5 separate regions of the Homo sapiens genome follow, and all the other regions are linked to region 3. Evidence: promoter capture Hi-C in 16 types of primary human blood cells and fetal thymus (Javierre and others, 2016). All regions are on one chromosome and are shown on one strand. The core of a region is centred on a gene start or on the middle of the fragment in contact, and the rest is flanking DNA. Distances in the headings are between cores, read along the strand shown. Region 1 overlaps GINS1 (GINS complex subunit 1). Region 2 overlaps ACSS1 (acyl-CoA synthetase short chain family member 1). Region 3 holds the start of PYGB (glycogen phosphorylase B). Region 4 overlaps NINL (ninein like). Region 5 overlaps ABHD12 (abhydrolase domain containing 12, lysophospholipase).

The links. Contacts are between HindIII fragments. The CHiCAGO score rates a contact against its expected background, and 5 or more counts as called.
Region 1: a fragment that was not itself captured here is called in contact with the fragment with the promoter of PYGB in region 3 in 2 of 17 cell types (M2 macrophages and monocytes); the score reaches 5.8 in M2 macrophages.
Region 2: a contact is called between a fragment that was not itself captured here and the fragment with the promoter of PYGB in region 3, in 2 of 17 cell types (megakaryocytes and M1 macrophages). The highest score is 5.5, in megakaryocytes.
Region 4: a fragment that was not itself captured here is called in contact with the fragment with the promoter of PYGB in region 3 in 3 of 17 cell types (M2 macrophages, M0 macrophages and M1 macrophages); the score reaches 11.1 in M2 macrophages.
Region 5: a contact is called between a fragment that was not itself captured here and the fragment with the promoter of PYGB in region 3, in 1 of 17 cell types (monocytes). The highest score is 5.7, in monocytes.

The regions. Positions count from the first base shown.
Region 1 is chr20:25,418,604-25,421,303 of GRCh38, reverse strand. All of the region lies in intron 4 of GINS1 (GINS complex subunit 1), which reads right to left. Among named protein-coding and RNA genes, the nearest start is that of GINS1, 12 kb to the right of the region's middle. The HindIII fragment of the contact is 2,402 bases long and covers 140-2,541 here.
Region 2 is chr20:25,009,913-25,012,612 of GRCh38, reverse strand. It overlaps ACSS1 (acyl-CoA synthetase short chain family member 1), which reads left to right. Exons shown (of 14, transcript NM_032501.4): 12 at 1-12. Among named protein-coding and RNA genes, the nearest start is that of APMAP, 19 kb to the right of the region's middle. The HindIII fragment of the contact is 2,167 bases long and covers 280-2,446 here.
Region 3 is chr20:25,246,687-25,249,461 of GRCh38, reverse strand. It overlaps PYGB (glycogen phosphorylase B), which reads right to left and starts at 1,377. Exons shown (of 20, transcript NM_002862.4): 1 at 1,041-1,377. The coding sequence starts at 1,283. RefSeq lists silencers at 734-1,113, 1,424-1,613, 1,624-1,813, 1,994-2,073, 2,092-2,345 and an enhancer at 1,264-1,343. The HindIII fragment of the contact is 3,937 bases long and covers 1-2,775 here.
Region 4 is chr20:25,460,986-25,463,685 of GRCh38, reverse strand. It overlaps NINL (ninein like), which reads left to right. Exons shown (of 24, transcript NM_025176.6): 20 at 1,145-1,303; 21 at 2,051-2,164. Among named protein-coding and RNA genes, the nearest start is that of GINS1, 55 kb to the right of the region's middle. The HindIII fragment of the contact is 3,043 bases long and covers 1-2,700 here.
Region 5 is chr20:25,374,837-25,377,536 of GRCh38, reverse strand. The region is part of intron 1 of ABHD12 (abhydrolase domain containing 12, lysophospholipase); the gene reads left to right. Among named protein-coding and RNA genes, the nearest start is that of ABHD12, 15 kb to the left of the region's middle. The HindIII fragment of the contact is 4,842 bases long and covers 1-2,700 here.

The DNA of each region.
Region 1 (2,700 bases), core at 91-2,590, 170 kb before region 3:
ATCATCACTCCCAGTAATAAAGTGCTTACTATATACCAGGAATTTGCTAAAATTTTAATATGCATTATTTTCTCTTTTTCATTGCCCCATGATGTAACTACTATTATTATTTTCTTTTTATTCATGAAGGACTGAAGCTTTGAGAGATTAGATAATTTACCAAAGGGCTCAGAGTTAACAAGGCAGGGATCTGAATTTAGGTGGCAGACTCAAGCCCATGTGCTTCAGTCACCCATTGAAGCACTATCCTTGGGTAATACAGATACCTATGATGACATTCAGACCTCATAGGCTCCTATAAGCTGTCAGGGATACCTGGAAATATTCTTTGTTACTGGTCCAAAATGGCTGATGCAGTTGCCACGATGCAATTGCTCAAGCAGAGATGTCTGTGGTCTACTACAGAGTTTATCTGTATTAATCTCTTCTCATCCTTCAGTGTTTCCAAAACATCACTACTAAGAGAACGAGACCATGTATATTCCTTTTATTCTTTTTCTTTTTTTCTTTTTTTTTTTTTTTGAGACAGGGTCTCACTCTCTCTCCCAGACCAGAGTGCAGTGGTGCGATCTCAGCTCATCGCAACCTCCACCTCCCAGGCTCAAGCAATTGTCCTGCCCTCAGCCTCCCTGACCAGCTGGGATTACAGGTGCACACCACCACACCCAGCTAATCTTTGTATTTTTAGTAGAAACAGGGTTTCACCATGTTGGCCAGGCTGGTATATTCCTTTTTATAGATGAGGTCACTGGGGTAGAAGGAAGTCATTTGCCAGTTTTGCAGTAATTCACAAACTCTTCCAAGAAACTATCTCAGGTTTCACTATTCTCAAACAACTTAATCTCTAGACCCATTAATATTATTTTATATAAGGCCAGGCACTGTGGCTCACACTTGTAATCCCAGCACTTTGGGAGGCTGAGGTGGGCAGATCATCAGGTCAGGAGCTCAGGACCAGCCTGGCCAATACAGTGAAACCCCGTCTCTACTAAAAATACAAAAATTAGCTGGGTGTAGTGGTGGGCACCTGTAATCCCAGTTACTCGGGATGCTGAGGCAGGAGAATCGCTTGAACCCGGGAGGCAGAGGTTTCAGTGAGCCAAGATCGTGCCACTGCACTCCAGCTGGAGCAACAGAGCGAGACTCCATCTCAAAAAAATATATATATATTTTATTTGCTGTTAACATTGTTATATTTCATTAAAATAGAAACTGACTTTGGGAACTCAGTAATCACAGAAAAGTGCCACCCTTACAGAAACAATGCCCAATATGAAATCTAATTGATGTGCTTGAATAAATGCAGCTTGTAATCATTTACTAAATTGTAAGAAACATATTAATCGCCAGGCGCTGTGGCTCACACCTGGAATCCCAGCACTTTGGGAGGCCAAGAGGGGCAGATCACAAGGTCAGGAGTTCGAGACCAGCCTAGCCAACATAGTGAAACCCTGTCTCTACTAAAATACAAAAATTAGCCAGGCATGGAGGCACGCACCTGTAATCACAGCTACTTGGCAGGCTGAGGCAGGAGAATTGCTTGAAGCCAGGAGGCGGAAGTTGCAGTGAGCAGAGAATGCACCACTGTACTCCAGCCTGGGCAACAGAGCGAGATTCCATCTCAAAAAATACACAAAAAAATTAATCTAAAATATTGTATGAGAAAAATCATTAAAGCTACTGTCGTTAGAGAAACATAATGTTCTGTTCATCTCACCATAATACACAGTAAGTACCCCAAAGTTCAATTAATATAAGTAGATTTGAACACAAAGAGCATAAAGTGAGGTACTAACATGTTACCAATTTCGTAGTCACTGGTAAATCTGAGGTAGAGATTACTCATTTATTTATGCAGAAAATGAACAGAATGAAAATGAAGCTATGACAACAAATAGATCACTTTCAAAAATGTGCAGAATCTAATGGCAAACACATTGAATATTTGTTTTTTTTTTTTCTTTAAGTTCTGGGATACATGTGCTGAACGTGCAGGTTTGTTACATAGGTATACATGTGCCATGGTGGTTTGCTGCACTGAATATTTTCTTTCTTAAGCTCTGTGCTATGCAACTGTAATGTAGTAACTGTTAACATTTATTGAGTGCCATCCTATGCTGTGCTCCACATGGACCACCTGAAGTAACCCTGTGATAGGCCTTGTAATAACACTGTTGTAGAATAAAGAATTTGGTGGGCCTCTCTCCCTCATTCCTGGGAGGTAGCTTCTAAATTCTTGTACTTTCTCAAGTAATAGGAGTGTCTTGTTATTTATGATGTGCCCTGAGAGTATGTGCTACTCAGGTGACTCGTGGTGAACCCCTACATAGTCTGTGCTAACAAGATGACTCAGAGTTGGGACTGGCTACCCCAGAAAGACCAACCATGTGATTAAAGTATTGGGCCTTTGGCCCTCCTGATGTCAGTCTGACCTCCAGGGAGGGGAAGAGGGATGAAGATTGAACTCAATCACAGGGCCAGCAATTTAATCAGTCATGTCTATGTAATGAAGCCCCAATAAACACTCTGGACATCAAAGCTTGTGTGAGCTTCCTTAGTTGACAATAACTGCAGGTAGTTAGTGTCAAAAGTCATTGCAACCTGTAATAGATAGGTAATATGATCTTCATCCTGTAACAAGGAAATTTAGGCACAGCAACAGGTCAAGTGACTTGCTCAATATTAGACAGCAGAGATTTG
Region 2 (2,700 bases), core at 114-2,613, 240 kb after region 3:
TCAAAGGAGAAGGTGAGTGTCCTGGAGATGAGCTCCTCCCTGATTCCTGACCCCACACCCATTATGGGCACCTCTGTACGAGGAGCAGACTCTGGAGAGTGGAGTGATAGGGGATACTGTGGGCCAAGCTCTCAGTGTTCTTCTCTCTCAAGTGGAAACTGTAGGGGAGGAGGCTGAATAGCACTCGTGTTCGGTCGGGTTTCTGAAATGCCCTGGTTCTGCTGTCCTTTCAGGACACACATCCACAGTGGCCATGACCCAGTTGGGCTTGGCTAAGCTTGGGGGGTTTCCCCTTCTGTCCATGGTGTATCTGGTGGGGACACCGTCCAGCCCCATTACAGAGAGTTTATGAGAAAATGTCCAGCCTCATGTATCCTCACGGGCTTGGTCATAGCACTCAAGCCAGCTCTGCAGCCGCCACGCGTGTGTGCCAGAGTGTGCTCTGGAGTGTGCAGGCTGTGTGCTGCGCTGGGACTCTTTGGACGAATCTGACCTGTGGTTCCCACTGCACAGCGACATGCTGGGGGAATGCAGAATGAGGGACTAGAATGGCCTTTACCAAGGCCACGCTTTGTTTCGAGTCTGCCAGCTTCTTGGTGGCTGGGTCTGGGAAGGGGCGGGAGCACCTAGGTGTTGCAATGCCAGGTCCATCCAGGCACACTGCCTGGCCTGGCGTGACCTGGACACACACTGACCCCATGCCAGGGCACTGCTGGGCAGACTGGCTTCTCCTGCCCTGCCCAGTGGCTTGGGGTCAGGCTTGCCCTCCCGCTGGGAGGCCACCCTGTGTCACAGTGTGTCCCAGATGTCACCTTCCTCCCTGCACTTCTATGTGCCGTTATTCCATTATTTACTTAAATGCTCTCTTTAAATTGACGCATTGCAAGATTGAGAATTTGTTTCAGTGCTTTACAAACAGCATTTTCAGTTGCCATGGAAAGGCTATGCTGGTAAGGCTGGGATGTGGGAGAGAGCTGGTAGGGACCCCTGCCCGGTGACATGTCCAGATGTGATCAGGAGGGTCAGAGAGGACGGAGACGAGGACAGTTTCTCAGGTGTGACTAGGGTAACTTAGTGCCCCCCTGAGGTTACCTCGCTCTGGCAGGAGCCTGGGCCCCTCCTCTGAGGACTCCTGCATTTCACATCTCTGGGCTGGGGGTCCACAGGGCACTGACGTGTCCTGGGATTTGAAAGCCCCATCTATGTCTGAGTCCAGTGGCTGAGCCAGTACTCCCTGGGGCCACTGAGAGGGGTCCGGGCATGGTCCACTGTGTCTGGGGATTCAGCAGCCCCTGGATTGAACTCCATAAAGCAAGTGCAAGATCAAGGAAAGGACAATGGAAGTGACCTTTAGACAAACGTTTGGGCATCACAATCACTGTCTTTCATAGGGTGGCCTAGCCTTAGGTCTGTTGGGGTGGTGTTGGGGCATGGTCTGCTGTGGACGCTGCTGCCCAGGGCACGTTCTGCGTGTGTGGAGCTATTGCAAGTCTGGTGTTGCCAGGCTTCTTAATGTCTGCCAGATGTGTGGGGATAATTTGTCTATCATGTGTATGATGATGTGCATTTTCCTGATTTCTAATGAATTTGAGTATCCATTCTATAATTATGAAGAGCTGATGAACAGCTCTTGGTTGGCTCTAAAGCTGCCTGTGAATATCGTATATTTGTCCCCACTCTCTCTGTTTTGCAGCAGCTCTGAAAAAGGGCAGCCCCTGGACCTTGTCTAGGACCTAGACCCAGCAAGCCTCTGGTGCTGCTGGCCAGGCTCTTGTCTCTCTTGTCTCCAGTGTCCTGAGCCTTGCCTGCCTCGTCCTGGCTCTTAACTGGCTCCTCCACCCATGTGGAAGGTTTCCTCCCTCCAGCTCCATCCTCAGAACTCAACAGTCCAGGCCCACTTCTGATCCCATATCAACGACCAAGATGAGAAAAACGGTGTTCTTTCCCTCAAAGATCTAACAGCCTAGTGGGGTGGCAGCAGGGGGACTGACAGCTGTTCCCACATAGCATGTGCCATAAACTAGATTCATGGGTGGAGTCAGGAAAGGCTTCACAGAGCAGGAGGTGGCTGAACTGAGTCTTGAGGGATGAATAGGAGTTCGCCACATGGATATAGGAAGGCCTTTCAGGCAAAGGCTGTAGGTCTTTACAGATCATAGCTTGTTCAGAAAACCAATCATCCATTCATGCACTTAACAACCATGTGTTGAGCACCTCCTGTGTTCCAGGCATGGTTCTAGATGCTGGGGACACAGCAGTGAGTGAGAAGGTCTCTGACCCCATAGAGGGGTCAAGAGTAGAGGAGAGAGACAGACAAAGAGCAAGAAAGATGATCACCAAGGAAACGACACAGTCAGTTAGGTGCTACATGCCAGGGAAGAATGGGTGAAGGTGGCATGGGGCTGGGGCAGATGAGCAGTAGGAGAGCCACACATATATAGAAGCTTCGAGGGAGAGACAGAGCACCTCACAGGCCAGTGGGGACGGGCAGGCTATCAGGGATGGCACCGGGATGAGCAACTCCTTATATGGACAACAATCAAATTAGATCCCTCTTCACAGTGTGAACTCTTCCTGGAACATGCCAGGGTACTGAAAAACGAAAGCTAGTATTTATGCTATAATGTGGGCTGGCCCGTGCTGCCCAGCAGAACTCTCAGCTGCCTCTCAGCTGTCTGTGTTGTCCAGGGTGGCAGCCTC
Region 3 (2,775 bases), core at 128-2,627:
TTTTCCTCACCAGTTCTCCCTCTACGTTAGTGTAGTAGAAAGACAATTCTCCATGGTCAAGAGTTTAAAAGCAAACGACAACAACAAAAAACTGGCAACAGGGGGCTGTGCAAGACTACCATGTACCTATCAAACTGAAAACTACCATCCTATCCATTGACCTGCAAAGCTGTTTATCAGTGAAAAAGTTACAAATGTTTACGAATGAAACAGAAAATCTAAAAAACTGTATGTGCATTATACTTTTTAAAAATGTGTATGTATATTTAGGAATACCAAAAACACAGCAAGAACACAGGCCCATAGTAAACATGGTTAAGAGTAACGGGGACAATCAGTGACTTTGTTTCACTACTCAAACAAATTTTTGCAAGATATAAAAAGTAACAATTAGTAAGATGATCTCTGTCAACTTCAACCCAAGCAAATTTCTCCAAGGGAGGTGTGGGAACCTCTAAGACAGAGCCTTCTTCGAGGGCTCCATCTCCATCTCTGAGCTTCGTACCCCTCCCTGCGTGAAGCAGGCATCTTCAGTGATTTTCTTCTAAGCAGCGTACACAAAAAAAAGTCTCACAATTCCCTGCAGATTACCGAGCTCACCCCATTCCAACCCACAAGGCTGCCCAGGCCTGGTTCCAGTCCCATTTTCTCCCACAGGCTGCTGCAGGAAAACAAAGAGTGGCTGGAGGCAGGGGCGGGGAGCACCGGCTCTGCAGCCAGCGCGGAAGCGCACGGCCAGAAAGAGACCGGGAACGTCCGCCAGGCTCCCGGGCTCAGCATCATCTGCGGGGGACGGCGGACCCCGCCAGGCGCGGGCTCCCAGTGGGGCGGACCCGTGGCCGCGGCCCTGCGCAGGGGACGCCCGGGCCCCGCCGACTGCGGCTTCCAGGCGACTCCCCAGTCGGCTGTGCCTGGCCGCCGGCCGGCTAGGGGCGCAGGTAACGCCCGACGGGCCGCCCCGCAGAGACCCCCGCTGGCGCGGCTCCGGGACCGGCGCCCTCTCAGCGGGCACGGGCGCACAGGGCGGGGCAGCGCCTCACCTTGGGGTCGCGCTCGTAGTAGTGCTGCTGCGTGCGGATCCAGCGGCCCACGAGGTGGTCGCGCACCGTGTGCGCCAGCGCGAAGAAGTAGTCGCGGGGCGTGGCCACATTGCGGTCCTTGACCAGCGTGAAGTGCAAGTGCCGGTTGAAGCTCTTCCGCACCTCGGCCACGTCGCCTAGCCCCGCCAGGCCGCGCACGCTGATCTGCTTCCGCTTCTCGCTGTCCGTCAGCGGCTTCGCCATCGCGCCGGCGGAGGCGGAGGAAAAGAGATGGAGGAGGAAAGCGGCGGCACACGCGAACGCCGGGATGGTGCAGCTGCTCTGGCGCCGCTGCTCTGGCGCCCGGCACTGCGGCTCTGCGGGCGGGATGGACCGCGCCTGCGCGCCGCGCCGGGGCGGGGCCTCGGGGGGCGGGGCGGGGCCTCGGGAGGGCGGGGCGGGCGTCCAGGCTCATAGCTGAGATCTCTGGTGTAGTCCGAGGCGGCAGCGACCTGTCCACGCCACCTGAGCGTGGTGTTTGCCCCCTCGTTGGGCAAGCCCGGCAGAAAGTGGGAGCGACTGGAGGGGGCAAGGGACCCGGGGCCTCGGAGCGTGCCGTCGTGGCCGCTCCTGCCAGCCCGGGGACGGTGCGGGAAGGGGGCCCTGCCCTCCGGCCCTCGGGTTCCTGGGACCGGCCCTCCCGCCCTGCACCGGGTCACCAGGTGCCCCGCGGGAGCGCGCTGGGCTCGGGCTGTGGCCGAGACCTGGTACACGTTCGGGGAAACTGATTACAGCTTGAAAGGCATCCACCAACGCCTGCTGGGCCCGGTCTTCTCTGTCCGGGGCAGGGCGGCTCTGAAAATACCAGCTATTTGCTTGCCACTCCAGGCCGATGACAGACGTGGAGAAAACCAGCTGCCAGCGAGCTGGAGACGCCCGTTCCCGAGGGCGCGAGGCAGCCACAGCCAAATGCCACCACGACCCCGCCTCGGAGGGACCGCAGCCCCCTAGCCCTCGGAGAAACCCTGTTCCCGAAACCACCTGGCAGACGCTGTCCGCTTTGAGATTACAGCAGGGAGAAGGAAACATGCCCGTCTGGCCGGGGAGCTCAGCCACTAACCGAGACTTAGCCTCTGTCATCCCAATCCAGGCTGCAGCTCCAGATAGGGGGCGTCTGCACACAGCTTCCCACACTTGGCCCCGCGGAACACAGTCCTGCTGGCCTCAGCCTGTGGGAACCCTGCTTCATGTAAAGGTCACCTAAACTCTGCCTTCCCTCAACCCCTTCAAACTCTGCCTTTCCCTTCGTTCTTGGGAGGCGCTCCCTCATTGCAGTGGGTCAGTACACCCGATTTTGTGGACCACAGGTTTGCTCCTGGTGGTCTTGGGCTGAAGGGGCTGCAAAGGTTACTGAATTTCGTGGAGGTAAAAATTGCCCGCAGGAAATGTCATGAAAGTCCAGGTGCAGTAGGTTTCCTGGTGTGATGCTTCAAAGTTATCTTCTTACCTGGAGCCCCTTCCAGCTGCAGACTTCAGAGGTCGGAGGTTAATCAATCTGGAATGACCCCACAGCCCACCCAGCTCCAGCTCGGGATTCACTCCTGCACTATGTCCTAGGGATTCTGGAGCCAACAAGATCGAACTTCGGGCACAGATGGCAGGGCTGTGGGGTCGAGCTTGGCTGCAAGCTCCGAACACTGATGCAATCTCTCTGAGGGTGATCTGGCAATTCAGAAGTCATAAAAATGATAGTGCC
Region 4 (2,700 bases), core at 57-2,556, 210 kb before region 3:
AGAGCGGGTCAGAGGACATCACTCCAAACCCCCAGGAGCTGCGGTGGGAAAAAGCAAGTAAGCAGAAATATGGTTGCATGAAGATGTTCCTGACAGGTGGCTGCAGACAGCAGAGCCTCCGTGGTCCAGACCGCAGGGCCACTTTCCTGCCGCTGTCACTGCACTGCGCCCTCACAGGTTCCCCTCATGAACGTTTGCTGAAATCCTTTGTCTGTGGGAGGTGCTATTGAGAAAAAGCAAAACATACAATTTGATGAACCTATGTACCCTGCCAAGAGCTACGCTTGTGTGTTCAATGACTGAGATCAGAGGAGACTTAAGAGATTCATGTACCTCAAGTTTAAATAGGTTGCTTTTTTGTTAAAATTGCCATATATTTTTAAATATATTAAAATAATCGTGGAGGAAATGAGAAAAACGTGAAAGGTCTTCCAAACAGTGGTTTGGACGGTCATGGCATATACTCCCTTCTGGTGGCCTAGATGTGTGTGTGTTTTTCCTAGGGGCTGGAGCAGGGCTTTCTGTCCTCGGCACTGGTGACGTTTGGGGCCAAATCATCTGTGTTGTAGGGTGTCAAGTGCCCCCATGCCTCCATCTCCAGCTGTGATTACCAAAAATACCTGGAGACATTGCCAGACATTTCCTCAGGAGCAAAGTTGTACCTGGTTGAGAGCAATTACAATGATATGAATTGAGCTGCTGGCTTAAAAGTATTTTAGGGGGCAAGGTGGGGCTGGGCTCAGTGGCCCACACCTATAATCCCAGCACTTTGGGAGGCTGAGATGGGAAGATCCCTTGAGGCTAGGAGTTCGGGACCAGCTTTGGCAACACAGCTAGAGACCCTGTCTCGACCAAAAAACAAAACTAGGTGGGAGTGGTGACGTGTGCCTGTGGTCCCAGCTACTTGGGAGGCTGAGGTGGGAGGATCGCCTGAGCCTAGGAGGTCACGGCTGCAGTGAACCATGAATGTGCCACCGCACTCCAGCCAGGGCAACAGAGCGAGAGCCTGTCTTGAAAAACAAAACAAAACAAAACAAAACAAATGACTACTTAATAAAAATATAGCCAATGATGGGCAAATGTATATATAACATGAAAATTAAAAACATTTTTTTCTTATGTATTTAAAAACTTTTTCCCCCAGAATCAGAACTACAAGGATCAATTATCCCAGCTCAATGTCAGGGTTCTTCAACTGGGACAGGAGGCTTCTACCCACCAGGCCCAAAACGAGGAGCATCGTGTGACCATTCAGATGTTAACACAGAGCCTGGAGGAGGTGGTTCGCAGTGGGCAGCAGCAGGTGGGTGGCCTCAGCCGCAGGGAGCTGAGCTGGAGGCTGGGAGCTCAGGGTGGGGAGGCGGCTGCAAATAGGTCAGGACACGCGCTGAGGAGCCTGGAGGGAAGTGAGGGACTTCCCAAGCATGCCTTGGAGAAGTAGGTGGACTGTGCTGTGTTGGCAAATCCCAGTATCTAAAGAAAATAGCAGAATAGCTTTATATGCTGCTGACAGAGGAGTGAATTGGTACAAAGTTCCCCGAGGGCAGTTTGGCAAAATACACACTTAGAGGCTGAAGAAAGTCCACATGCCTTGACTTCACGATTCCGATGGGGATGTTCCCGAGAGCCTTGTGGAAGGATGCAGCTGCAGCATTTTCCTTGCTGTGCTGTTTATAATAGCAAAGCAGAACTGAAATCGGCCGAGTCACCAACAGAAGCTGAGGGAGTCACTGGATCACAGCACAGCCACTGAAAACCATGTTTTCAAATCATAACTAATGCCCCAGGAAACGCTCCCACTGCAGTGAGGAGAAGGCACTTCCTGCAGTGCGTGGCGCACCTGACACTGTCTCACCAGGGAGATGCGTGTGTGTAGAGGAGGGGCCGGGGAGTGACTGCAGGACACAGGGCCGGCCTTGGTTGGTGGGTTCACAGGGATTTAAATTTTGTACTTTTTTTCTTTTCTGTAATTTTCTGAGGTTTTTGCACGAATTACATACCAGACTCTTCAGATACTTCTTGACTTGTGCAATTGATTTTTTAAAAACAGAGTGACCAAATCCAAAAACTTAGAGTTGAACTTGAATGCCTGAATCAGGAACATCAGAGCCTGCAGCTGCCATGGTCAGAGCTGACCCAGACCCTTGAGGAAAGTCAAGACCAGGTGGGTGTGAGCGATGGCTGGAGGCACTGGGTCCAGTCCCACCTGGGAGCAGCATCACCGCAGTGCCAACGGTGTTGCCAGGCCTCCTCCAGCCCAAAGAAGTAGTTGCGCTGCTGGGCACAGCTGTCCAGGTGCTTACCGGGCCAGGACCGAAGCTGCTCCCAGTGCAGGGTTGGTTTGACTGTCAGCAAGCCCCGTGAAGAGTAGTGACTGTTTACTCCCGAGGGAAGGAGTGCGGGCACCATGCCTGTGGGTGAGCCCTCCACAGAATGGAGGAGCCAGAGGCAAGCCTGGGGACTGTGTCGTCAGAACCAAGGCAGCAGGCTCCAGCCCTGGGAGTGGGGTGACATGGGCACTCATGGGCATGCATGACACTGGCCTCTGTACACGCCTCCGGGTGCCACATCTGCTGGCCCCGCAGGTGAGAGGCGCGGGAGGTGCAGACACAGGAGGCTGGGCTATGGTGGCAGGGGCTCGTGGTCCGGGACAGACAGGTGTGTGCAGGGGCAGCCGAGCAGGGGCCTCAGGGAGGGGAG
Region 5 (2,700 bases), core at 63-2,562, 130 kb before region 3:
CATTACCATGTGATGCCCTGAGCCACCTTGGGACTCTTCGGAGTCCCCACCAGCAAGAAGGTCCTCACCAGATATGGCCCCTTGACCTTGGACTTCCCAGCCTCCAGAATGCTAAGAAATAAATTTCCTTCTTTATAAATTACTGACCTCAGTTATTTAATTATAGAAACAAAAAACTGACTAAGAATAGGTCTCTTAGCCTCTTGCTTGACAGGATGTAATGCAAAATGCATTGCTGGCCAATAGAGCCATCTAAAGACATGAGAAAAATTCTCAGTTTGGGGACACAGGACACCTTGACAAGGCACATCATGGCATAACCTACAAGAAGGCAAGCAAAAAAGACTGCCATTCTAGGACATTCAATATCTGGCTTAGGGTTCCAGGAGGAAGGGACTGTTAGGCCAGTACAGGCCAGCTGGGAGGCTGCCAGTGCAGCCCCAGAGCCTCAGGAAAAAGCTGAAGGAGATTCTGCCAGGGCCCAGGGAAGCATCTCCAGGTATGAGGTCGCCTGGGAGATGTCATAGCTGTGGTGAAGGGCGGCCTCTGAGGGGCCCTCTCTCTCTCACTCTGTTCCTCTCTCAAACAGTTTGATTTTTTTTTCTGATTCCAAAGTAATAAAGAGTTCTTAATAAAAATTTAAAACAGAGAAAGTGAAACTCCCTCTGGATAATTGCTGTGAACAGTGTGGCCTGTGTTGAGAGTATTGCTCCTGTGTTCTTCCATCCATTTAGCAAGTATGTCTTTTTCGTTGACCTAGCCTTCACTGAAGGCTAGAGTGGATAAAATGCTGCACAAGAGTGGGACAAATCCCAGTCCTTGTGGGACTTCTGTTCTCATGAAGGAGAAACACGGCAACAAAGATAGCACATAAGTATACAGTAAAATTTCAAAGGGTGATAAAGTGCTATAAAGAAAAATAAAGCAAGGTAAGGTTATGTGGCTGTGTGTAAAGCACCTGAAAACATGCCGTACCACAGTGGTGAAATATTTTTGTTTCTGCCAGGAAAATAAGGCCTTCTCACAGTAGGATACCCAGTTGTTCAGTTCTGCCGACTGAATCCTCATGATTTTTTGTTTTCTTCTTTGGGAACAAAGAGACATTTATGGACTGCTCTTGTGTGTTTTATTAAGGCCTTAAAGTTTTCAATTCAGTAGAGTGAAATTGCTCTCAACACTGACTGCTTTTGAATATGATTATGGAGATTGTTGTTAAGATTTCCGCCTAAAAGCTAAGAAGAATTTAATCTGTTAGTCTTGGGGAATGAGATTTGGCGTTACTCTCTTGTTCCTTCTAAGAGAATACCATGGAATTAAATGATAAAACACTTTTCCTCAACAATTTTGATGGTTACATTAATGAAGGAGTTGATGAAAACTAATTGTAGACATTATTATTATTATTATTATTTTTTGAGACAGAGTCTCACTCTGTCGCCCAGGCTGGAGTGCAGTGGTGCGATCTGGGCTCACTACAATCTCCGCCTCCCAGCTCATGCCATTCTCCTGCCTCAGCCTCCCAAGTGGCTGGGACTACAGGCGCCCACCACCACGCCCAGCTAATATTTTTGTATTTTTAGTAGAGACGGGGTTTCACCGTGTTAGCCAGGATGGTCTCGATCTCCTGACCTCGTGATCCACCTGCCTTGGCCTCCCAAAGTGCTGGGATTACAGGTGTGAGCCACTGCACCCAGCTAATTATAGACATATTTTAAAAGAAACATAGAACTTCCACTACTGACCAAGGTGGCTGAATTTACCCGGAAATAACCCAAATAGCAGCCACAACAAAAACGACAACATACACGAAACAATTTTTAAAACACTGGGCACCAAGCAACAAAGGACAGTAAACTCGGAGAAGTGACAGACAAAGGAAGTGAGCCCTACAGTACCCTAGCTGATCTCCTTGAGAGAGCTTCCACGCCATGGCACAGGGAGGGGAGCCACGTGGACTCCCAGGGTTGTGGGTGTGGAGCTGAGAATCTGGAGAGACCAATGTGGCTAGAGTTTATAGGACAGAGTACCAGAGAGGAGAGAGCAACACAGAGAGAGACCCTGGGGTCTGCAGAGGGTCCCCTTGATCAGCACACGTGTGTGAGGAAACTCTCTGTGGCTGGGGAAAGAACTGTCTGAAAAGATCAGAAGATACAGTCCCTGCTACTTAGAGCAAGATTATAATTTACTGGTAGAACATTCAGGAACAGCATGCTTCAGTAGTGGGAAATTCCAGGTGTATGGGTTTGTGAGGGCTACCATAACAAAGTAACACAGACCAGGTGACTTAAATGGCAGAAGTTTATTTTCTCTCGATTCCAGAGGCCAGAAGTCCAAGATGGAGGTGTCAGCAGGGCTGGTTTCTCATGAGGCCCCTCTGCTTTGCCTGTAGATGACCACCTTCTCCATGTGTCTTCATATGGTCTAACCTCTGTGTGTGGCTCTTTCTGCATTTCTTCTTACAAAGCTGAGTCATAGTGGATTAGGGTCCACCCTGATGACCTCATTTTAGCATAATTACCTCCTTAAGACCCTCTCTCTAAATACAGTCATATTCTGAAGTGCTAGGGGTTAAGACTTCAACATACAAATTTTGAGGGGACATTATTCAGCCCATAGCACAGGCATGCAGAGTGGGAGGAAACTATGATGTGTATATAATGAAGAGAATAATCAATGAAAACCGACTGAGTACTGACACGC